2 separate regions of the Homo sapiens genome follow, and region 1 is linked to region 2. The links are contacts of gene promoters, found by promoter capture Hi-C in blood cells and fetal thymus (Javierre and others, 2016). All regions are on one chromosome and are shown on one strand. Each heading gives the region's core, a stretch centred on a gene start or on the middle of the fragment in contact. The rest is flanking DNA. Distances are from core to core; before and after follow the strand shown. Region 1 holds the start of ANKRD52 (ankyrin repeat domain 52). Region 2 holds the start of BAZ2A (bromodomain adjacent to zinc finger domain 2A).

Evidence for each region. The method cuts DNA at HindIII sites, captures the fragments that hold promoters and counts their contacts. A CHiCAGO score of 5 or more calls a contact.
Region 1: the fragment with the promoter of ANKRD52 here is called in contact with a fragment that was not itself captured in region 2 in 1 of 17 cell types (M1 macrophages); the score reaches 5.2 in M1 macrophages.

Annotation. Positions count from the first base shown.
Region 1 is chr12:56,257,124-56,264,166 of GRCh38, forward strand. ANKRD52 (ankyrin repeat domain 52) reads right to left here and starts at 1,261. Exons shown (of 28, transcript NM_173595.4): 1 at 1,120-1,261; 2 at 705-788; 3 at 160-238. The coding sequence starts at 1,146. RefSeq lists enhancers at 1-263, 570-619, 700-749, 5,273-5,442, 6,896-7,043 and silencers at 810-879, 900-1,449, 1,460-1,519. The HindIII fragment of the contact is 14,479 bases long and covers 1-7,043 here.
Region 2 is chr12:56,623,956-56,630,530 of GRCh38, forward strand. BAZ2A (bromodomain adjacent to zinc finger domain 2A) reads right to left here and starts at 6,371. Exons shown (of 29, transcript NM_001300905.2): 1 at 6,170-6,371. RefSeq lists enhancers at 3,248-3,749, 6,528-6,575 and a silencer at 5,958-6,307. The HindIII fragment of the contact is 1,831 bases long and covers 2,629-4,459 here.

The sequences.
Region 1 (7,043 bases), core at 11-2,510, 370 kb before region 2:
GAGGAGGTATGAAGGAAGCCAGTAATCAGGCCAGGAAATCTGAATGGAGCTGGAGCCTCGCCTGGACCAAGCCGGGGAGAGCAATCCTTGAATATCAAAAAAGACTCCTCCCCTCCCTTCGCTCCCTATGTGCCACACCTTCCAGCTCCCCACTTTCACCTGACATCAGTAGCAACTGGAGGATGGGGACATCGCCTACGTAGGCAGCAGCATGCAATGGAGTTCGCCTCTCTTGGTCCTGGGAAGGCAAAAAAGAGCAGGGAGTATGGGCGCGGGGTAAGGGGGCTATCAAGGACCCCAGCCCAAGTCTCAGAGCTCCAGGCCCTTCCCCACAACCTCTTCCCATAGTTTCTGCAGCGTCCTAAGTCCCGGTATTGGGAGTCAAAGGCAAGCACCTAGGGAGGGTGGAGTCAGGGCCAATGGGCTGAGAAGCCGGCTCCTTTTTCCAGGAGGGGTGGGGGCGCTGCAGACTCCGGAGGTTGAGAAGAGAACAACGTTCCTGGGCATTCCCAGCCCAAGTGATCTGGGCTTCAAGCCTGACCTGCTCTCCATCCCCAAATGCAGAGTAGGCTTTCACTCCAGGATGGAAAGAACTGCGGCCTCATCTGAGCAGAGGAGACACGGAGCCGCCCCACCGGTGGGGAGGGGTCCAGAACACGGGAGCCAGGATTCCGGTCTCGCCATCCTCCCTGCTCCCAACTCACCAGCACATTGATGTTCTCCTTCTGCGAGAGTAGGGAACGCACTTCCTCCACATCTCGGCTAAAGATGGCCTGGACCAGGGGCGGCTGCAGAGAGAACCGGCATTCTGAGAGCGGGCTGGAGCCGGAGCGGAACCGGTGTGGGGGTGGGGGTGGGGGAGCACCTAGGTTTGAGTGGGGGGCGTCCGTGGAGGGGCTCCACTCTAGGGATTCTGGCTGGAGCGAGCTCCCGCGGTGCCTCCGCCGGTTGCCAGGTCCCCAAGGACACCGGCTCGGTTGAGGGGAGCGCGGCATGGGGCGGGGCGGGAGCTGCGGGAGCCCCGGGCTCAGGCCCAGCCTAGGCCGCACATCCCCGGGCTCGCGTGACGGCAGCGCCGAGCCCTGGAAGGAGGAAGCGGGAAAGGGCAGGAGGGCTGACCTGGTCCGTGATGCTGAGGATCCCCATGGCTCGGCCCGGGCTCCGTCCGCATCGAGCTCCCGGCGGCGGCGGCGGCGGCTCCACCGGGGACACGGAGCGGCCCAGGCGGCGGCTGCGGTGGCGGCTGCAGGGAGAGCGCGGCCCCGCCTACCGGGGGGCGGGCGAGTTGGAGGCCGCAGCGCTCCCTGGCGGCCGTCCTGGTCCCGGCGCTCCCCGCGCAAACGGACCCCGGCCGCAGCGCCCTCCGCCCCACCCTGGCGGCCCCAGCAGCCCCTGCACCCCCGAACTCGCGCGCCGGCTCCCCGGCTCACGCAGCTGGCCGCGCTGTGCTCTCCGCTCCAGTCTGGCGGCCCAAGGGGTTCCCCACAAGACCCTAGCGGAAACCTGGGCCTTAGTCCCGCGGTGCTTCCCAAACTGAGGACCGAACGGCTGGCCAGATCTTACCCAGCCCACAATGCTCCCGCCCGAGCTAACTCCTCCCGTCAGCGATTCCACACCCCGAAATCCCCCACAGACTAGGAGGAACTGGCGGGTGGAGAACTGGGAATTATGTATGGCAATAGCCCCAGAGGGAGGGAAAGCGTGTATCTCCACTGGCGGAGGCGTGAGTTCGGTAGAGAAGAAATAGCAAAAGTGCTCAAACTGCAGAGAAACCCCAAGGAGGATTCTACTGCAGAAAACACCCACAAAGAGGCCATGACAACTGGCAGCTGGAAAAGGCCGCCAAGACCAACAGAAGGGGCATTTTCCAACTCCTTACTGATTCCATTGCAAGGTTAAAGTGGAAAACACTCAACAATTTCTCCCCAGAACAGCCTGTGGCGCTTCCCCTCCTCCAATGGAGAGGCCAGAGAGCCGTCAATTAGAGAAGAAATGAATGGAGGTCATCTCAACCCAGAAACGGAAAAAGGAGGAAGACGAAAAGTGGAGATTGAAAAATTGATACAATTTATAAAAGGTGATCCAGGGTCCTGTTCAGAGTTTCACAACTCAATACACATTGAAGAGAACACGAAATGGACGAAGTGCAGCATGCTGGCGTCCTGTCAAGGCTTTATATATAAAAATCCTCCCTTGAGGGGAGAGGAAAAAAATTAAAAAATAAAAATACATTTTATTTTATTTTTTGAGATGGAGTTTCACTCTCGTCCCCCAGGCTGGAGTGCAGTGGCACGATCTCGGCTCACTGCAACCTCCGCCTCCCGGGTTCAGTGATTATCCTGTCTCAGACTACCAAGTAGCTGAGACTACAGGCGCCCGCCACCCTGCCCGGCTAATTTTTTATTTTAGTAGAGACGGGGGTTTCACCATGTTGGTCAGGCTGGTCTCGAACTCCTGACCTCAGGTGATCCACCTGCCACGGCATCCCAAAGAGCTGGGATTACCGGCGTGAGCCACCGCACCCGGCGAAAATACATTTCAAAAAAGCCTTCCCGGCCGGGCGCGGTGGCTCACGCCTGTAATCCCAGCACTTTGGGAGTCCGAGGCGGGTGGATCACGAGGTCAGGAGATCGAGACCATCCTGGCTAACACAGCGAAACCCCGTCTCTACTAAAATACAAAAATCAGCCGGGCAGGGTGGCGGGCGCCTGTAGTCCCAGCTGCTTGGGAGGCTGAGGCAGGAGAATGGCGTGAACCCGGGAGGTGGAGCTTGCAGTGAGCCGAGATTGCGCCACTGCACTCCAGCCTGGGCGACAGAGCGAGACTCCGTCTCAAAAAAAAAAAAAAAAAAAAAAAAAAAAAGCCTTCCCATTCCCAACATGGTGAAACCCCATCTCTACCAAAAATATAAAAAAGTAGCCTGGTGTGGTGGTGCACGCCTGTAATCCCAGCTACTGGAGAGGCTGAGGCAGGAGAATCACTTGAACCAAGGAGGCGGAGGTTGCAGTGAGCCGAGATGGAGCCACTGCTCTCCAGCCTGGGTGACAGAGCCAGACTCCATGTCAAAAAAAAAAAAAAAAAAAAAAAGCCTTCCCTTGCTTTCCTGCTAGAAAGATACTTAAGACACTAGTAACAGTCCTTTTTTCCCAGAAAGAAAAACTGGGGTACAGGAAATAAGGAATGAGAGAGAAATTTACCTATCACTATATACCTTTTGGAATTTTTTAAATTTTTACCATATTGAAAATAAAAGTTAAAATATTGCTTAGGAGCAATCACTCCGTGATTCCATGCACACACAAAAATTATGAAGAAATTTAAACTTACCTCTTCCAGGAAGTCTCCTCTGGCTAATAGGCTCTTTTCCTTTTGTTAGTTCTCCTTAACACTTACATACTTAGTTTATACTGCCACAATCTGGTTAAATTGTACACCTTTGTTTCTCATTTCACCTTTTTTTTTGGAGACCAGTGTCGCTCTGTCGCCGCCCAGGCTGGAGTGCTGTGGCGGGATCTCGGCTCACTGCAAGCTCCGCCTCTGGGGTTCATGCCATTCTCCTGCCTCAGCCTCCCCAGTAGCTGGGACTACAGGTGCTGCCACCATGCCCGGCTAACTTTGAGTAGAGATGGGGTTTCACCATGTTAGCCAGGAGGTTTCAATCTCCTGACCTCGTGATCCGCCCGCCTCGGCCTCCCAAAGTGCTGGGATTACAGGCGTGAGCCACCGTGCCCAGCCAGGTATAGTTTTTTTTAAGCTCCAGAATATCAGTATAGAGAAACAGGCATTTAATATTTGATGACTGATGATGATGATGAAGCAGCAGCAGAAACCAAAGGTAGCAAAGGATCAAATGGATATGGGTGTTGGGACTTGGCTATTGGGTATGATGGGCCTTCCAGGAAGGGCTAAACTAGGATATGGCCCAGAGGATAAGGAGGAGGGGCATACATGGTATCCATTGCCCAAAATAACTCTAGGTAACCTGAGGAATTGGAGTCAGGGGTTCAGCTGGGGTCACGTGCCCGGTTCTGGCTAGGGGATGGAGGTGAACAAGAGAGGTTGCCAGCCTGGTTCTCTGGGCAATTGGAGGGAGGAGGACGGGCTAGAAGAGTTATTTTTAATATTATTTAGAGCATCAAAAGAGGATTTCCCAGTAGGAAAAAAAGGGATTTGATGTAGGGAACACTGATACTTTCAGGGCTCAGGGAGACACACAGGGTATGGGAGGAGGAGGCCAGAAGTGGTGATAAAACCTTCTTATATGGACAGTCCTTCTGGATTGAACTACAAGCATTCATATTTGGGTAACTCTAGACAGATGGCTGCCTATTTTTAAGCCTCAGTTTTCCTTCTTCTGACTAAATGTGAGGACTCACCCGATGTACAGCCCTGTACTAATTGGTCGGGAGGTCAAAAATTAGAAGTAATGGTGTCTCTTTATGAGGAGCTTATAACTTAGTAGATGAACATACATATACATGTGAAACAACTACAGAATATAGGATACATGCTAGATTACATGGCATTATGTGTTCAGAGTAATGTTGAAGGAAGGGTTCAGTCAAGAGGGTCTTCCTGGAGGAGGTGTGTTTTGAGTCAGTACTTGAAGGAAGTTATTGATGTAGAATGGTGGAGACATGGGAAGAAATCGGTTGTTTCAAGTATAGGGACTAAACTAGGAAAGTTTAAATGGCAGTAATTAGTTAAACCAATTAGTAGGGGACAGTAAGCAAATTGGCTTGGTAGGCCTGTTGGACCTTGGGGATTCTGTAGCAGTCAACTTGGTTAAGGCAGAGTGATAATGAGGTCACAGTTCAGTTATGTATCCCTGTTAATTTCTGTCTTTTAACCAACCAGATCCTTACTCCTCATTCAAAGCAGCTGTCTCACATGTATAAGCCCTTAGTCAGAGGCGGGTGGGGCTGGACAAGACAGTGGAATTCGAAAGAGTAAATCTGTCCTTTAAGGTCATGTGCCCATCTGAAGGTGGCTCCAGATTACCATTTGTGAACTGGAAGGAGGCACTGTACTACAGTAGTGGAAAGGAGGACTGGGGGATGTGGACATTTTAACAGACTCTCTCTGGAGTGCAGAGGCGAAAAGAAGAGATGTTAGGAAAGAAAATAAGTGAGATCATCACCCAACTTGGGGTATCACGGAAGAGGATAAACGGAAAGGTGGCGGCCGGGCACGGTGGCTCATGCCTGTAATCCCAGCACTTTGGGAGGCCAAGCAGGTGGATCACCTGAGGTTGGGAGTTCAAGACCAGCCTGATCAACATGGAGAAACCCCGTCTCTACTAAAAATACAAAATTAGCCGGGTGTGGTGGTGCATGCCTGTAATCCCAACTACTTGGGAGGCTGAGGTAGGAGAATCGCTTGAACCTAGGAGGCTGAGGTTGCAGTGAGCCGAGATCGCGCCATTGCACTCCGGCATGGGCAACAAGAGTGAAACTCTGTCTCAAAATTAAAAAAAAAAAAAATTAAAAAAAAAAAGAAAAGTTGACAAAACACATTTATAGTCCAGGCATGGTGGCTCATGCCTGTAATCCCAGCACTTTGGAAGGCCAACGTGGACATATTGCTTGAGTTCAGGAGTTTGAGACCAACCTGGGCAAGAAGATGAAACCCTGTCTCTACCAAAAATGTGGTAGTGTGCCCCTGTGGTCGCAGCTATTTGGGAGGCTGAGGTGGGAATATCACTTGAACCTGGAAGGCAGAGGTTGCAGTGAGCCGAGATTACACCAATGCACTCCAATCTGGGTGACAGAGTGAGACCCCCGTCTCAAAAATTAAATAGATAAATAATAAAACATATTCATTTGGTCAATAATTATTTTGAATTGGTAGTACTAACTGCTATAGAGGTAGAACAGCTTATTAAAAATGGGTTTTGATGATCACCCAATGGCTCTTGCTTACTTGAAATCCAGAGAAGATGGGCTCAAACTTTTTTTTTGAGACGGAGTTTTGCTCTTGTTGCCCAGGCTGGAGTGCAATGGCGCCATCTAGGCTCACCGCAACCTCTACCTCTGGGGTTCAAGTGATTCTCCTACCTCAGCCTCCCGAGTAGCTGGGATTACAGGCATGCACCACCACGCCCGGCTAATTTTGTATTTTTAGTAGAGATGAGGTCTCTCCTTGTTGGTCAGGCTGGTCTTGAACTCCCAACCTCAGGTGATCCACCTGCTTGGCCTCCCAAAGTGCTGGGATTACAGGTGCGAACCATCTCGCCCCGCATTTTTTTTTTTTTTTTTTTTGAGACAGAGTCTCCGTCTGTCCCCCAGGCTGGAGTGCAGTGGCACAATATCCACTCACTGCAACCTCTGCCTCCCGGGCTCAAGTGATTCTCTGCCACAGCCTCCCGAGTAGCTGGGACTATAGGTGCGTACCACCACATCTGGCTTTTTGTTTTGTTTTGTTTTGTTTTTGAAACGGAGTCTCGCTGTGTCGCCCAGGCTAGACTGCAGTGGCGTGATCTCGGCCTACTGCAACCTCCGCCTCCCAGGTTCAGGCCATTCTCCTGCCTCAACCTCAGCCTCCTGAGTAGCCAGGACTACAGGCGCCCGCCACCATGCCCAGCTAATTTTTTGTATTTTTAGTAGAGACAGGGTTTCACCATGTTAGCCAGGATGGTCTCCATCTCCTGACCTCGTGATCCACCCGCCTTGGCCTCCCAAAGTGCTGGGATTACAGGCAGTGAGCCACTGCGCCCGGACATGTTTTGTATTTTTTGTAGAAATGGGTTTTTGCCACGTTGGCCAGGATGGTTTTGATCTCCTGACCTCATGATCCGCCTGCCTTGGCCTCCCAAAGTGCTGGGATTACAGGTGTGAGCCACCGTGCCCGGCCCAAGAGCTACCCTGTTTCTAGACCAGATGTCTCTTCCAGATTAGTTGGACAAGAATTGCAACACAGTCTTTTTTTGTTTTTGTTTTTGTTTTTCTGAGACAGGGTCTCACTCCCGTCACACAGACTGGAGTGCAGTGGTGCAATCACGGCTCACTGCAGCCTCAACCTCCTGGGCCCAGGTGATCCAACTC
Region 2 (6,575 bases), core at 2,294-4,793:
GTTCCTCCACCAATAAGAGTTCCATGTAGGCTGGGAGAGGTGGCTCATGCCTATAACCTCAGCAGGATCACTTGAGGCCAGGAATTCAAGACTGGCCTGCGCAACACAGTGAGACCCTATCTCTACACTAAAAAAAAAAAAAAAATTCCAAGTACCAAGCCACAGAATAAATATGCCCTCTTCTCCAATCACGATAACCCATTCTGAGTGCCCTAGTAACAAGCTTCCCTTGAACTCTGACTCGGACAAACTATATCATATACTGACTGAGGCTCAAAATATCCATCCTCTCCTTAACTACCTTCCCTAGTCAGGACTCCAAGTGAGGCAGAACAAAGATAATGAAAGAAGGAAGATTATACTAAGAGGGGGCTACTCAAAGAAAACTGTCACGTCCAGGCTGTTCAGAAGAATTCAAAGATGACTGTTCTCTGTCCTTATTTCTTCTACATTATGTCGGTTCCACAGCATCAGTTGGATATAAGTTCCACCATTATATCCCTAGCACCTAATTTAGTGCTAAGTATACAAAAGAACCAAAGGAAATATTTGTTGAGTCCATGGACTGAAGAAATGAATGAGTAAATCTACCTTTTCTGCCACTACCAGCTTACTTATCCAATGAAGGTCATGGGCTTTGCTCTTACTATTTTCAGAGAACAAAAAAAAAAAAAAAAAACTCAGCTTCATTCTTCACAGAGATAAAAATTTCAAGAGAGAAGAAAGGCCTCAAATCTTGACGTACTTAAATAGCCATTCCTTGAAGAAAATAAGGCCTGAAAATAGGGAAGTACTGATAATGTAAAAAGCCAATAAATTAGCTAGGCATGGTGGCATATGCCTGTAGTGCCAGGTTCTCCGGAGGCTGAGGTGGGAGGATTATTTGAGTCCAGGACCTGGAGGCTGCAGTGGGCTATGATCACACCACCGTTTTCAACCAAATAAAAAAATAAATAAACGTAAGCTCTGAATTAATAAAACATTCTACTTGGTTTAACTGAACACTTGAGGCATATAATAGGTTTTTATATATTTGTTAATTAAAGAAACTACAGGTTAAGTTTTCTGCCACATTTCCAGTCACTTTACTCTCAGAAGACCAGGAATGCCTCTGAAATTGCAGGACACTAAAAGCCACAGTCCAGAGGTTATATTAAGGTAATTTCCCTCTTTCAGCTCTGATTGTTTCTTAGAATTTCTTTTTTTTTTTTTTTTTTTTTGAGACAGTGTGGCTCTGTTGCCCAGGCTGGGGTGCAGTGGCACGATCTCTGCTCACTGCAACCTCCATCTCCCCGGTTCAAGCAATTCTCCTGCCTCAGCCTCCCAAGTAGCTGGGATTACAGGCGCCCACCATCACACCCGGCTAATTTTCATATTTTTAGTAGAGACAGGGTTTCACCATGTTGGTCAGGCTGGTCTTGAACTCCTGACTTCAGGTGATCCGCACGCCTCAGCCTCCCAAAGTGCTGCGACTGCAGGCTGAGCCACCGTGCCCAGCCAGAATTTAAACTCTAACAGTTAAGGACTCCACCCTTTCCACCCCCAAATATGAGCTAAGCAGGCAGGTTAAGGACCCCATTCATGAGGCAGGTTACAGAGTCCAACCTCAAAAGACTAAAAGTAGGAAGACCATCTATCTTTTAAAAACTTCTTGGCTCACGCCTGTAATCCCAGCACTTTGGGAGGCCGAGACGGGCGGATCATGAGGTCAGGAGATCGAGACCATCCTGGCTAACACGGTGAAACCCCGTCTCTACTAAAAATACAAAAATTAGCCGGGCATGGTGGCGCGCGCCTGTAGTCCCAGCTACACGGGAGGCTGAGGCAGGAGAATGGCGTGAACCCGGGAGGCGGAGCTTGCAGTGAGTCGAGATCGCGCCACTGCACTCCAGCCTGGGCGACACAGCGAAACTCCGTCTCAAAAAAAAAAAAAAAAAAAAAACAACAACAAAAAACTTCTTCCTTTCTTTGGTAAATTTTTGGCAAGATTACAGTATTTTAGTCTGCAAAATGCCCCCATAATAACTGTTCTCTTTAAAGAGGAGAAAAGACAAAACACTAAGCCAATGCTACTTTTACTGCTAGTGACAGTATCTTCAAAGTATCAGATATCTTCAAAGATGGGCTTTTTTGTTTTGCACAATTTTTTAAATTTCCAAATTAGGCAGACTGATAATAACAAGCTGGTGAAAAATAGTCCTACTGACCCACATGAGATAATACTGAGAAACTATTCATCTTGGGCTATATATAAGGCATATGAGGACACCAACATCCTAAGAAACAAACCAAGAAGGTTATTTACCCCAGGAATTATCTCAAATTTTATACTTGGCATTATTGCTGCTCTTGATACATCTTACACAAGGTCAAACATCATTATCAATGACTAACTTCTATACTGTTTCAGCAGTAAAAATAGCAGTTTGGTGCTTGACCTCTTCAGTGGTGACAAGAAAGGTCAACAGCAGGAAGACACTGTCAGTAACCCTAACAAGCTTTGCTTCTCTCCCAGTAATACTTGATTCCAGAGCCGCAAGACTACAAGATGAACCCTTCATTCTAGACTGGCTCTGGGGTCAGCCCATACAGCTCTCTTTACACCTCAGATTTTTTCTTTCATCGAGAAGCTTGAAATATTAAGAAATATATTTCTCTGACAGAAAAATGCACCCATTTTATAAGAAGGCCATGAAAGGTTTGCTTCATTCAGCTCCCAATTCAATCATGTATCAAATGAAATCACTATTTTCTCAAAATCAGCTTTTCTTTTAAAAGTCCAAAGACTCAAGAGTAGTTATCTCTCCTTTCTTTACTCTTTTAACCCCCAACAGGGAAAATCAACTTGCTGTTCTGTCAAGTGCCAATTCAGGTAAGCAAAGGCTGAAGAAAGGGGAACTTAAAATCAGCATCAAATCAACCCCATCAGACAGCAACTTAAAGGAACTAATCAGGGGCAAGAAAAAGGATGCTGACATCAGATGGACTTGTTTTTACTGTTTCCAGAATATCAAAAACCCCAACAGCCCCAGTGAGAAGAGCAATGATGCTGCTATCTTACTAGTGATGATGCCACTTTCACACAATCATAAGTGTCTATCTGCTCCCATACTGGATCTTTAATCTAGGGATCTTCATCTAGGTGGGAGGGGTTTTTGCCTGGAAAATAAATAGTGAAAAGATGATTTAAATGACAGGCTTACGTAGTTTTCAGAATAGTCCAAATAATCTGAAAATGTTATCTTTCAAGGCTTGGCCCTGTGGCTTATGCCTGTAACCCCAGCACTTTGGGAGGCTCAATTCGAGTTCGAGACCAGCCTGACCAACATGGTGAAACCCCTTCTCTACTAAAAATACAAAAATTAGCCAGGCATGGTGGCGCATGCCTGTAATTCCAGCTACTGGAGGGCTGAGGCAGGAGGATCGCTTGAACCTGGGAGGCGAGGGTTGCAGTGAGTCCAGATGGTGCCACCGTACTCCAGCCTGGGCAACAGAGCGAGACTCCATCTCAAAAAAAAAAAAAAAGAAAAAGAAAAAAACAAAACTTTATCTTTCAAAATCTAAAATCCTGTGGTCCTGGGGTCATAGGCCGGGCATGGTGGCTCATGCCTGTAATCTCAGTACTTTGGGAGGCTAAGGCAGGCAGGTCACTTGAGCCCAGGAGTTCAAGACCAGCCTGTGCAAACTGGCAAAACCCCACCTCTACAAAAATTACAAAAAATTAGCTGGATGTGGTGGTGCGTGTCTGTGGTCCCAGCTACTCAGGGGGCTGAGGTGGGAGGATCACTTGAGCCAAAGAGGTCGGGGCTGCAGTGAGCTATGATGGCGCCACTGCACTCCAGCCTGGGCATCGGAGTGAGACCCTGTCTCAAAAAAAAAAAAAAAGAAAGAAAGAAAGAGAAAAGAAAAGAGAGAGAGAAGAGAAAAAAAAGAAAAGAAGAGAAGACCAGGCATGGTGGCTCACACCTGTAATCCCTGCACTTTGGGAGGCCGAGGTGGGTAGATCACCTGAGGTCAGGAATTCGAGACCAGCCTGGCCAACATGATGAAACGCCGTCTCTACTAAAAATAAAATAATTAGCTGGATGCGGTGGCGGGCTCCTGTAATCCCAGCTACTCGGGAGGCTGAGACAGGCAACTCGCTTGAACCCGGGAGGCAGAGGTTGCAGTGAGACAAGATCACACCACTCCAGCCTGGGCGACAAAAGCAAAACTCCGTCTCAAAAAAAAAAAAAAAAAAAAAAGACAGAAAGAAAAAAAAAGAAAAGAAAAAGAAAAGAAAGAAAAATAAAATTCTGTGGCCAACTGTTGCCCCTAACCAAATCCAGTGTGCCACAAAATGCCTGGGGACATAGCACACAGTCCATCACTATATGTTACAGGAGAAATATCCTGGGATTATCAAGTGAAAAGAAAGAAAAAAAAAATCTGGGCACGACTTTGCAGGGAACAGAGGAAAAGCTTACCAATCTCCAAGAAGAATAAGAGGGGAGACGTTCTTTTATGGATTAAAGAGTAAGTCATATGATAACAAACTGTACTATTCTAATTAGTTGATTCTGCAGAAGGTAGTATCTCCAGCACCCCTTAGTCAAATAACAAGCTTCCCACAGGGGCTGCCCTTAGGCTAGAATCACCACCAAGGACTGAGTTCACCAATCTCAGTCTGTTAATCAGTCCCTACCCCCGACACACAAATCCATCTAATAGTTAAATCTTCCTCACCCCTTCCTCTTCGTCCATTTCTTAGAATCTACCCTTCTTCACAAGCTCACTTGCTCAGGTGCTCTGCAATATAGAAACTGTCATAATAACTATACTAAAGTAGGACCCCAAGAAGCTACTCGTGCCACAAAAGCTCTCTAGTCTCCCTGACAGCTCTCTATGCTGAGGGAATTTGCATCACTTACATAGAGCGTACCCCGCTGGTAGATAACTGAGTTTGCTTCTCTATGACCTCTAGCTAAAGGGAAAACAAAACGAAACCAGACAGGAAGACAGAGATGTTCTGGAGAAGGGATTGGGATACGTGAGTCAACTGAAGTTGACTACTTCCAGTTGACAAGTTTACAAAAAAAAAAAAAGTCCAACGAAAGGTCTCTCGGGCCACATGGTTGGCAAGATCCAAGCTTGCCCAGAAGGCTTCAGAAAATGAAACCAAATCTGATTAAAATGGACATTTCAAAACAACAAGACACGCAGCAGCAAACGCACAGCTGCCATTTCCCGGCCACTTCCTGCGGGAGGCTGGGGGAGGGGCTGTTTGTGTACAGATAGAGGTGGAAAGCTATCCCCTCCGTCGTCCCCCAAAGCAGACAAATCTCTCACTCCAATTAACCCTACAAAGGACAACTGCTATTGACATTGCCTTCTCCTGAAAACTGGGAACACCGGGAAAGAAAGGGATGATGCGGTATCATCTTTCTGCCACGGAAGCGGGGATCCCCTCAGTGAGGAATCTCCTTGGAAAAAGGAATTCCTCTTTATTCTTCCCTTCTGCCCCTCAGCCCAGCTCAAATTGGAAAGCCTCAGCGGAAGCCCTATCAACCTCCATCCCCGGAGTGCGCGATTCTCCCGGGACGCGAGGGCCCCAAGCCAAGCGCAGCACCACCCTCAGCAAGGAAGGCCCTCTCCTGATCTTCACGCTCAAGAGAATGGGTGCGCTCCCCGAGGGAGACACCCTCAGACCCCTGGAAACCCCTTCCGCCCTCCACTCACCACAGTCAAAACGCCCAGCTCCCCGCAAACGGAGCGTTTTAACCCGCCAAGGGAACCCCCTCACCCACCCCTCGCGCTCAGGCAATCCCCACCCCCACCCGAGGAGGTGGAGCCCCTCCCGGGGATTCCACCCCAAGTCCCCCACAGGAGTCATCTCCACCAGCCAGGCGGCTTCTCCGCCTCCTCACTGTCGCCGGGAGCCCCTACAGCTCCTCCTGCCCCCGCGGCCCCGTCCGGGGTCCTCAGCAGCCCCACCAGCCCTGTTCTCCTCCCAGACCCCAGAGCAAGGAGACCCTCGCCTCGGGTTGGATCCTCGCAGGAAATAAGCTCCCGTCGGCTTCCCGCCCCGGCAAGGCTCAAGCCGGCTCTGGAGCTTCTGTTCCCCGAGGGAAGCCTCGGATGAAAGCGGGGCTCCCTCCCCCTCAGGCCCCTGGCCACAGACCCCACAAACCTGAGGCAGCGGCGTCCAGCCGGGCTCGGGGCTCGTCTCTCCCCGGGGTACAAGCGGTTCACATGGCCGCGCTCCGGGCGCCAGAACGGGTGGAGACGCCCGCTGGGGAGGGGGTCTGGGGTCCGGGGTTCGGGAAGGGGGAGGGGGACGCGGCTCAACCGCGGGGCCCGAGAGGAGCCAACATGGCCGGCGGGGGAGGAGTGAGTCGGAGCCGGAGGGGGCGGAGAAGCCTCGGCCGGGAGAGAGTCTCCCCACGCGGCCTCCGCCACAGGGTCCTAAAGCCCGCCAGCCCATCTTTCCGACCCGGACCTGGGTCCTAGCGCCGCTGTGCCTCCTGCAACTCTGGCCACCTTGCCCACCTGGCAGCTCCCTCTGCACCCGCATCTCATGGAGGCAGTGGTCCTGC